Linked DNA regions of Homo sapiens: all the other regions are linked to region 1. The links are contacts of gene promoters, found by promoter capture Hi-C in human tissues and cell types (Jung and others, 2019). All regions are on one chromosome and are shown on one strand. Each heading gives the region's core, a stretch centred on a gene start or on the middle of the fragment in contact. The rest is flanking DNA. Distances are from core to core; before and after follow the strand shown. Region 1 holds the start of CYP11B2 (cytochrome P450 family 11 subfamily B member 2). Region 2 has its middle 17 kb from the start of CYP11B1. Region 3 has its middle 47 kb from the start of CYP11B2.

Region 1 (3,199 bases), core at 208-2,707:
CTCTGTCTCAAAAATAAATAAATAAATAAATAAATAAATAATAAAAATAAATAAATAAAAGCCAGAAAGTGTATTTGATGATCATAGTTATGTATATGTGAAATGAAGGACAGCAATGATGCAAGGGATGGGTGAGTGGAATTAAAAATATCTTATTATTTATTTATTTTGAGATGGAGTCTTGCTTTGCTGCCCAGGTTGGAGTGCAGTGGGATGATCTCAACTCACTGCAACCTCCGCCTCCTTGATTCAAGCATTCATCTTGACTCAGCCTGCTGAGAAGCCGAGATTACAGGCATGCGCCACCACACCTGGCTAATTTTGTATTTTTAGTAGAGACAGGGTTTTGCCATGTTGGCCAGGCTGGTCTCGAACTCCTGACCTCAGGTGATCCACCTGCATCAGCCTCCCAAAGTGCTGGGATGACAGACATGAGCCACTATGCCCAGCCTAAGAATATCTGATGATTATAAAGTGCTTGCATTACCTCTGAAGCTGTATAGTGTTATATGAAGGTGGAGTTGGAGAGATGAGTTTTAAGCGTATATTGCAAACTCTAGGGCAACCACTAAAGAAGTGAGACCCAGCCTCTAGAAAAAAAAAAAAAAAAGGAAATTAGCTATCAAGCCACGAAAAGAAATGGAGGAACCTTAAACGCATATTACTAACTGAGATACGTCACTTTGAAAAGGCTACAAACGGTGTCATTCCAACTATACAACATTTTGGAAAAGGCCAAAGCATGGTGATGATAAAAAGATCGGAGATGTCAGGGACTGGGGCAGGAGGGATGAGCAGGCAGAGCACAGGTTTTCTTTTCCTCTTTTTAAGACAGTGAAAATACTCCTAGGATCCTGCAAGGAGGGATACAAATTACATACATTTGTCAAAACCCACAGCATGTTGACCACCAGGAGGAGACCCCATGTGACTCCAGGACCCTGGTTGATAACAACGTATCGAGATTCCTCACATGGAACCAGTGCGCTCCTGTGGTGGAGGGTGTACCTGTGTCAGGGCAGGGGGTACGTGGACATTTTCTGCAGTTTTTGATCAATTTTGCAATGAACTAAATCTGTGGTATAAAAATAAAGTCTATTAAAAGAATCCAAGGCTCCCTCTCATCTCACGATAAGATAAAGTCCCCATCCATTTTACTCCTCTCAGCCCTGGAGAAAGGAGAGGCCAGGTCCCACCACCTTCCACCAGCATGGACCCCCAGTCCAGACCCCACGCCTTTTCTCAGCATCCTCAGACCAGCAGGACTTGCAGCAATGGGGAATTAGGCACCTGACTTCTCCTTCATCTACCTTTGGCTGGGGGCCTCCAGCCTTGACCTTCGCTCTGAGAGTCTCAGGCAGGTCCAGAGCCAGTTCTCCCATGACGTGATATGTTTCCAGAGCAGGTTCCTGGGTGAGATAAAAGGATTTGGGCTGAACAGGGTGGAGGGAGCATTGGAATGGCACTCAGGGCAAAGGCAGAGGTGTGCGTGGCAGCGCCCTGGCTGTCCCTGCAAAGGGCACGGGCACTGGGCACTAGAGCCGCTCGGGCCCCTAGGACGGTGCTGCCGTTTGAAGCCATGCCCCAGCATCCAGGCAACAGGTGGCTGAGGCTGCTGCAGATCTGGAGGGAGCAGGGTTATGAGCACCTGCACCTGGAGATGCACCAGACCTTCCAGGAGCTGGGGCCCATTTTCAGGTAAAGCCCTCCCTGGCCCTCGCTGGGAACACCCAGATCCCTGCCCCTGCTGCCCAGGACCCTGCCAGGCACTCAGCACTGCCATTCCCAGCAGGTCCCGGCACTCTGCATCCTTTGGAGGATGGGGAAGGAGTGCAGCACATGCTGGTCTGTGGTGCTGCCAGGGCAGGGGATAGTGCAGAGAAAACCCCAGCTCACTGCAGAGAGGGCAGGACTCAGAAGCACTAAAGTTGAAAGGTTCCAGGGAGCCAGCAGGAGGGCTTTAGCTGTGAAGCCGCTAATCCAGGAGCAGGGAGGGTGGACAGGAGACACTTTGGATTGGGACTGCAGGGTGGGGCCACGAGGGACATGACCCCGTCCAGCAGGGCCTCCTGCTTGGCCCCACAGGTACAACTTGGGAGGACCACGCATGGTGTGTGTGATGCTGCCGGAGGATGTGGAGAAGCTGCAACAGGTGGACAGCCTGCATCCCTGCAGGATGATCCTGGAGCCCTGGGTGGCCTACAGACAACATCGTGGGCACAAATGTGGCGTGTTCTTGTTGTAAGCGGCGAGTTGGGAGCTGAGAGCTGGGAGCAGGGTGGGCAGCCTGGGTGTAGGGGGGAGGCGAGAGAGGTAGGACCCAAAAGCACATCTGCCCTGGGCCCCTGTGGTGGGCAGTGAGGGTGAGCACCCGGCCCAGAGGACGGCCATCCTGTGGGGTCGCGTCTGCACTGTGGGTTGGGGAAGCAGGGCGGTGGTGGAGAAATGGGCACGGGCACCTCTGCAGAGAAGACGCAGAGCAATGAGCCCTTCTGTGTAGTGAGAACCCGCTCTGCACCAACCTCGGCGGCTGCTTTCTCTTGCGGTCTGGGGACTGTCCTTCCCATAGGTCAGAAAACTGAGGCCCTGAGAAGGGGACTTCCACTGGCCCAGGTCACAGGCTGAGTGCTGAGCCTGGTGTTCGCCGGGGCCACAGCCTCCCTCAGGGCGCTCAGGGTCCCTGCAGTCCTGGCAAACCTTCCTGATGGGGACAGTCCGGGGCAGGAGGCAGGTGGGGACGCAGGTGGCTGGTGGTTCCGTTGTTCTCAGAAGCAAGGCACAAGGTGGGGCGGTTGATGGCACTGGGGAGGATGTTTCCTGGCCCGTGGAGAGGGTGGCGCCTGGTCAGGTGGGCAGGGAGAGGCTGATGCTTGGAGTCGGTCACCTGCAGGGATGTTGTCATTAGGACGGGGGAAGGACTGGATGAGGATGTCACAGTGGTGACAGCCCCCACTCCATGGTAGGAAGGGAACGCTATTGGGAATAGTGGGGTTTAGGTAAAAGGGCACCCGTGGGTCGGGGCCTTCACTGAGGCTGGCCTATAGATGACATCTGGGAGAGAGTCAGGACCCAGGAAGGCAGGTCCAGGAGGCTGGGTGCGCATAATGGAAGGAAGGGGAGCGCTCCTGTATGTGTGTGTGTCTTGCATCTGTGCACATGCTGTGTGTTTCTCTGTACCTGCATTTGCACATGTGTAGTG
Region 2 (3,199 bases), core at 264-2,763, 55 kb after region 1:
ACAGCAGAATTCTCAGCAGAGACCCTACAAGCCAGAAGAGATTGGGGGCCTGTTTTTAGCTGCCTTAATGAAAAAAAAAAGCCAGCCAAGAATTGTATAATCCTGGCTAGCTAAGCTTCATAAATGAAGGAGAAATGAGGTCTTTTCCAGACAAGCAAATGCTAAGGTAATTTGTCACCACTAGACTACAATAAATACTCAAAGGAGTTCTAAACATGGAGACAGAAGGACAATACTTGCCATCATAGAAGGACACATGAGTGCAAAGTTTACAGATCCTATAGAGCAATTACACAATTTAAACTCCAACACAACTACCTAACAACACTATGATAGGAACAAAACCTCACATACCAATATTAACCTTGAATGTAAATGGCCTAAGTGCTCCACTTAAAAGATAAAGAGTGGCAAATTGGATGAAAAAAATAAGACCCAATCATTTGCTGCCTACAAGAGACCCACCTACTGGCTAAAGACACCTTCACACTCAAAGTTAAAAGGTAGAGAAAGATATGTCATGCAAATGAAAAGCAAAAGCAAGTGGGAATAGCCATTCTCATATCAGATAAAACAAACTTTAAACCAAAAACAGTTAAAAAAAAAAGTCAAAGAAGGGTATTATGTAAGACAAAGGGTTGAATACAACAAGAAGATTTAACTCTTCTAAATATATATGTACCCAACACCAGATCACCCAGATTCATGCAAGAAATACTAGTAGACCTAAGAAAACAGGTTGATAGCAATGCAATAATAGTGGGGACTTCAACACCTCATTGACACCACTGGACAGATCATTGAGGCAGAAAATCAAGAAACACTGGACTTGAATTGGACTATAGACTAAATGAACCTAATAGATATTAGCAGAACATTCTACCCAATAACCACAGAATATACATTCTCGTCTATGCATGGAATATTCTCCAAAATCGACCACATGCTTGGCCATGAAGCAAGTCTCAACATTAAAAAAATCGTATCAAGTATCCTCAGAACACAGTGGAATAAAATTAGAAATCAATATCCAGAGGAACTCTCAAAACTACATAAGTACATGGAAACTAAACAACTTGTTCAAGAATGATTCTTGGGTAAACAATAAAATTAAGAAATAAAACAATTCTTTGAAACAAATGAAAGTAGAGATAAAACACATCAAAACCTCTGTGGTACAGCAAAAACAGAGCTATGATGAAACTTTATAGAATTAAACACCTACATTGAAAAGAAAGAAAGATCTCGAATTAGCATTCTAACATCACACCTCAAGGAACTAGAACAAGAGAGTCTGAGTGTGAGAACACTTCTAAGGGGCTGCCCAGGCACACTGGGTGCAGGATCTACCTAGCTCTTTTCTGCAGCTCTCCCAGCTGCTTGCCCAAACCGAAATCTAGCAGAAGAGAAGAAATAACAAGAATCAGAGCAGAATTAAGTGAGACTGAGACCAAACAGGATGACAGACAGGATCAGTGAAATGAAAAGTTGGTTCTTTGAAATGATAAACAAAATTAATGACCACTAGCTAGACTAACCAAGAAAAAAAGAAGATTCAAATAAGCATAATCAGAAATGATAAAGCTGACATTACCATTGATACCACATAAAAACCAAAAGATCATCAGAGAGTACTTTGAATACCTCTATGCACACAAACTAGAAAATGTAGAGGAAATGGATAAATTCCTAGAAACATACAACCTCCCAAGATTAAACCAGAAAGAAATAGAACTACTGAACAGACCAATAAGGAGTAATAAAATTGAACTCATATTAAAAAAATCTTCCAACAACAACAAAAAAGCCCAGCACCAGGCATATTCACAGCGAAATATTACCAGATGTACAAAGAAGAGCTAGGACCAAAGTTACTGAAACTATTCCAAACAATCTAGAAGGAGAGATTTTATGGAATGCTTTTTCTGCATCTGTTGAGATGATCACATGGTTTTCATTCTTAGTTCTGTTTACGTGGTGAGTCACATTTATTGATTTGTGTGTGTTGAGCCATTCTTCCATCCCTGGAATAAAGTCCACTTAATTGTGATGAATTGTCTTTTTGATGCACTGTTGAATTTTGGTGTCATAGAATGAGTTAGGGAGGAATCAGGCAAGCACGCAACAAAGAAAACTACAGGCCAATATCACTCAACGCAGAAGCCAAAATCCTCAACAAAATACTAGCAAACTGAATCCAACAGCACATCAAAAAGATAATTCATCCCTCTATTCCAGGGATGCAATGATGGCTCAACATATGCAAATCAATCAATGTGATTCACCACATAAACAGAACTAAGAACACAAAACATATGATTATCTCAATACATGCAGAAAAAATCATTTGTTAAAAGCCAATATCCCTTCATGATAAAAACTGTCAACAAACTAGGCATTTAAAAATACCTCAAAATAATAACAGCCATATATGACAAACCCACAGCCACTGAACGGGGAATATATATGATGAATCCACAGCCACTAGACATCATACTGAATGGGGAAAGGTTGAAAGCATTTCCCTTAAGAATTGGAACGAGGATGTCCATTCCTTGTTCCACTTCTTGGAATGGATGTCCATTCCTTGTTCCACCACTCCTATTCAACATAATACTGAAAGTCCTAGCCAGAACAATCAGGCAAGAGAAAGAAAGAAAAAAGAAAACAGGAAGTCAAATTATCTCTGTTCACCAATTACACAGTCACATACCTAGAAAGCCCTAAAGACTCCTCCAAAAGACTCCCAACTTGATAAACAACTTCTGTAAAGTTTCAAGATACAAAATCAACATACAAAAATCAGTAGCATTTTTATACACTAATAACATTTAAGCTGGGAACCAATTCAAGAACTCAGTCCCGTTTACAATAGACCACACACACACACAACCTAGGAATACATTTAACCAAGGAGGTGAAAGATTTCTACAAGGAGAACTACAGAACACTAATGAAAGAAATCATAAGTGACACAAACAAATGGTAAAACATTTCATGCTCATGCATTGGAAGAACCAACATCGTTAAAATGACCCTATTGCCCAAAGCAATCTGTAGATTCAACACAATTCTTATCAAATTACCAATGCCATTTTTTACAAAATTAGAAAAAAAATTCTATAGTTCATATGGAACAACAACAAAAAGCCCAAATAGCCAAAGCAATCCTAAGCAGAAAGGAAAAATCTGGAGGCAT
Region 3 (3,199 bases), core at 312-2,811, 47 kb before region 1:
AAGAAAAAAGTAAAGGAATAAAAGAATGGCTACTCCATAGAGCCACCCTGAGGGCTGCTGGCTGCCCATTTTCATGGTTATTTCCTGATGATATGCTAAACAAGGGGGTGGATTATTCATGCCTCCTCTTTTCAAACGGTATGGGGTAACTTCCTGACATTGCCATGGCATTTATAAACTGTTATGGCGCTGATGGGAGTGTAGCAGTGAGGATGACCAGAGGTCACTCTCATGGTCATTTTGGTTTTGGTGGGTTTTGGCTGGCTCCTTTACTGCAAACTGTTTTATCAGCAAAGTCTTTGTGACCTGTATTTTGTGCTGACCTCCTATCTCATCCTGTGACTTAGTATGCCTTAAACATCTGGGAATGCAGCCCAGTAGGTTTTAGCCTCATTTGACCCAGTTCCTGTTTAAGATGGAGTTGCTCTGGTTCACATGCCTCTGATATTTCCCCCCTTCCTTTTATAAGAGAACACTTATTCCTAAAGGTTGCAGAGGGATGGAGATCCATCTTCTGTAACTTCTTCAGGCTGAATAGGGGTGATGATATTCCTCTCTAACTATGAGGGTCTCTTGCAATCAGGGTAGAGAGGAGCTCAGTCAGAAAGCATCAGTGTGGTAAGTCCATTAATAAGTCTTGAGTTTTGACGAAAGGTGATATCTGGAAGATTAATATGTGTTTAATTTAAGAAAACATTCAGTAAGCTTGTCCTGTATTTCTATACAAAGAGTATAACAGCAATATATTCCCCAAGAGTAAAGCAAAATAAGTAAAGTTATTCCAAGTAAACATAATTAGAAGGCTTTTCATGAACTGGGCAACTGTTGGAACTAAGCTGGTATGGGGTTGTTAGCTGATTGTCATGTGCCCAGAATTAGAATACCAATTCAGAGTTTTACATTGCCCATCCCTCTTTGTTGTGGGAAGTCAGGGACCCAAAATGGAGGGACTGGCTGAAGCCATGGCAGAAGAACGTGGATTGTGAAGATTTCATGGACATTTATTAGTTTTTATAAAACTAATACTTTTATAATTTCTTATGCCTGCCTTTACTGCAATCTCTAAACATAAATTGTAAAGATTTCATGGACACTTATCACTTCCCCAATCAATACCCTAGTGATTTCCTATGCCTGTCTTTGCTTTAATCTTTTAATCCTGTCAGCTGAGGAGGATGTATGTCGCCTCAGGACCCTGTAATAATTGCATTAACTGCACAAATTGTACAGCGTGTGTGTTTGAGCAATATGAAATGTGGGCACCTTGAAAAAAGAACAGGATAACAACAATTGTTCAGGGAATAAGAGAGATAACCCTAAACTCTGACTGCCAGTGAGCTGGGCAGAATAGAGCCATATTTCTCTTCTTTCAAAAGCAAATGGGAGGAATATCACTGAATTCTTTTTCTCAGCAAGGAACATCCCTGAGAAAAAGAATATGCACCTGGAGGTATAGGCCTATGAACGGCGCCCCCCCCCACCCCCAGGTGTGCCTGTCTCTTATGGTTGAAACTGCAGAGATGAAATAGACTCCAGTCTCCCATAGCACTCCCAGGCTTATTTGGAAGAGGAAATTCCCACCTAATAATTTTGGTCAGACCGGTTGCTCTCAAAACCCTGTCTCCTGATAAGATGTTATCAATGACAGTGGTGCCTGAAACTTCATTAGCAATTTTAATTTTGCCTCGGTCCTGTGGTCCTGTGATCTCGCCCTGCCTCCATTTGCCTTGTGATATTCTATTACTGTGTAAAGTACTTGATGTCTGTGACCCACACCTATTCGCGCACTCCCTCCCCTTTTGAAAATCCCTAATAAAAACTTGCTGGTTTTTGCGGCTTGTGGGGCATCACGGAACCTACCGATATGTGATGTCTCCCCCGGACGCCCAGCTTTAAAATTTCTCTCTTTTGTACTCTGTCCCTTTATTTCTCAAGCCGGCTGATGCTTAGGGAAAATAGAAAAGAACCTACGTGAATATTGGGGCAGGTTCCCCAATACCTCTTGTTTCTTCTGAGCAACAGTCAGAGATCACTGGTTGATTCACAGGAATAAGCAGGGTTAGCCTAAATTGCAGAAACAAACTTAAAAACAACAGATAAGACTAGAATTTAACAACAAGTGCACCATAGTTCTTGAAACATAATATTTCTCTCTCCAGTTTTCCATTTTTACTAAAGACAAATTATGGTAAGACTGATTTGCTTTATTATATTTGGCCTGATTATTTGTATAAAGTGCAGCAAGAATAATTATTTTTCACATAAGCTGTTTTTAAATTGGCTTTGATGGAACTCTGTTTCATAAGGAATCTCAGATAAGACTTTTTTAAAGCTGAGCCCAGCCATGGGTTTGTACCTTTGTATATCTATGAGTTAGGTAAATTTTTTTTCCTCTTGATGTCCCAAGATAACCTGGGGCTCCTGGACCTGTCAGAAAGTGACATTCTTTACTCACCACAGGTTAGAAACCCTGCACAGGGACTGTTTTGGAAAGGTATAAGGTCAGTTCCCTAAAGAGATTTTATTGGCTCTATAAGTCAAGTTTAATTCCCTAAAGGAAAACACACTATTCCAGGCAAAGCCTTGACAAAAATCACCAATTTCTCCCATTGTGTCCTGTTACAAAAGAAAACAGTTTCTTATTGCAAATATAGTTATGCAAATAACTATATTGCCATAAGTTAAGAATACTCACAACTAGTTTACAAATTCTGGAGAAATTAGGTAGAGAGAAACAAATATGCTCCACATTTTGTTTATAGGTGGATACATACTTAACTGTTAAAAGCTGTAAACAGCTCAAAAGAAAAGTTTCCTTGACTTTGAAAAACAAAACAAAGGATCAGCAATGTTTTAAGCAAAGTTTAAAAGATTACTTCCGTTTTTTTATTGGTTTAGTGAATTTAGTTAACTCCTGTTTTGCTTGATATTTATGAACATTTTAGCTCTCCATGAGAGTCCTGCAAGTTTTTCCTCTATTCTGATGTTACAATTTCCAAAGTTATTAGAAAACCTACATTTAAGAATGCCTGTTAGGCCAGGCATGGTGGCTCACACCTGTAATCCCAGCACTCTGGGAGGCCGAGGCAGGGGGATCACTTGAGGTCAAGAGTTCAAGACCAGACTGTCCAACATGGTGAAACTCTACCTGTACAAAAAATACAAAAAAAAAATTAGTGAGGCATGGTGGTGCATGCCT

The links. The method cuts DNA at HindIII sites, captures the fragments that hold promoters and counts their contacts. A contact is called where the count stands out against the background at its distance.
Region 2: a fragment that was not itself captured here is called in contact with the fragment with the promoter of CYP11B2 in region 1 in 1 of the 25 tissues and cell types used here (IMR-90 fibroblasts).
Region 3: a fragment that was not itself captured here is called in contact with the fragment with the promoter of CYP11B2 in region 1 in 5 of the 25 tissues and cell types used here (dorsolateral prefrontal cortex, lymphoblastoid cells, mesendoderm cells and 2 more).

Annotation. Positions count from the first base shown.
Region 1 is chr8:142,916,101-142,919,299 of GRCh38, reverse strand. CYP11B2 (cytochrome P450 family 11 subfamily B member 2) reads left to right here and starts at 1,457. Exons shown (of 9, transcript NM_000498.3): 1 at 1,457-1,698; 2 at 2,086-2,241. The coding sequence starts at 1,460. RefSeq lists an enhancer at 170-451 and a promoter at 1-1,458. The HindIII fragment of the contact is 14,293 bases long and covers 1-3,199 here.
Region 2 is chr8:142,860,914-142,864,112 of GRCh38, reverse strand. No RefSeq gene overlaps it. Among named protein-coding and RNA genes, the nearest start is that of CYP11B1, 17 kb to the left of the region's middle. The HindIII fragment of the contact is 3,293 bases long and covers 1-3,159 here.
Region 3 is chr8:142,962,882-142,966,080 of GRCh38, reverse strand. No RefSeq gene overlaps it. Among named protein-coding and RNA genes, the nearest start is that of CYP11B2, 47 kb to the right of the region's middle. The HindIII fragment of the contact is 3,160 bases long and covers 1-3,141 here.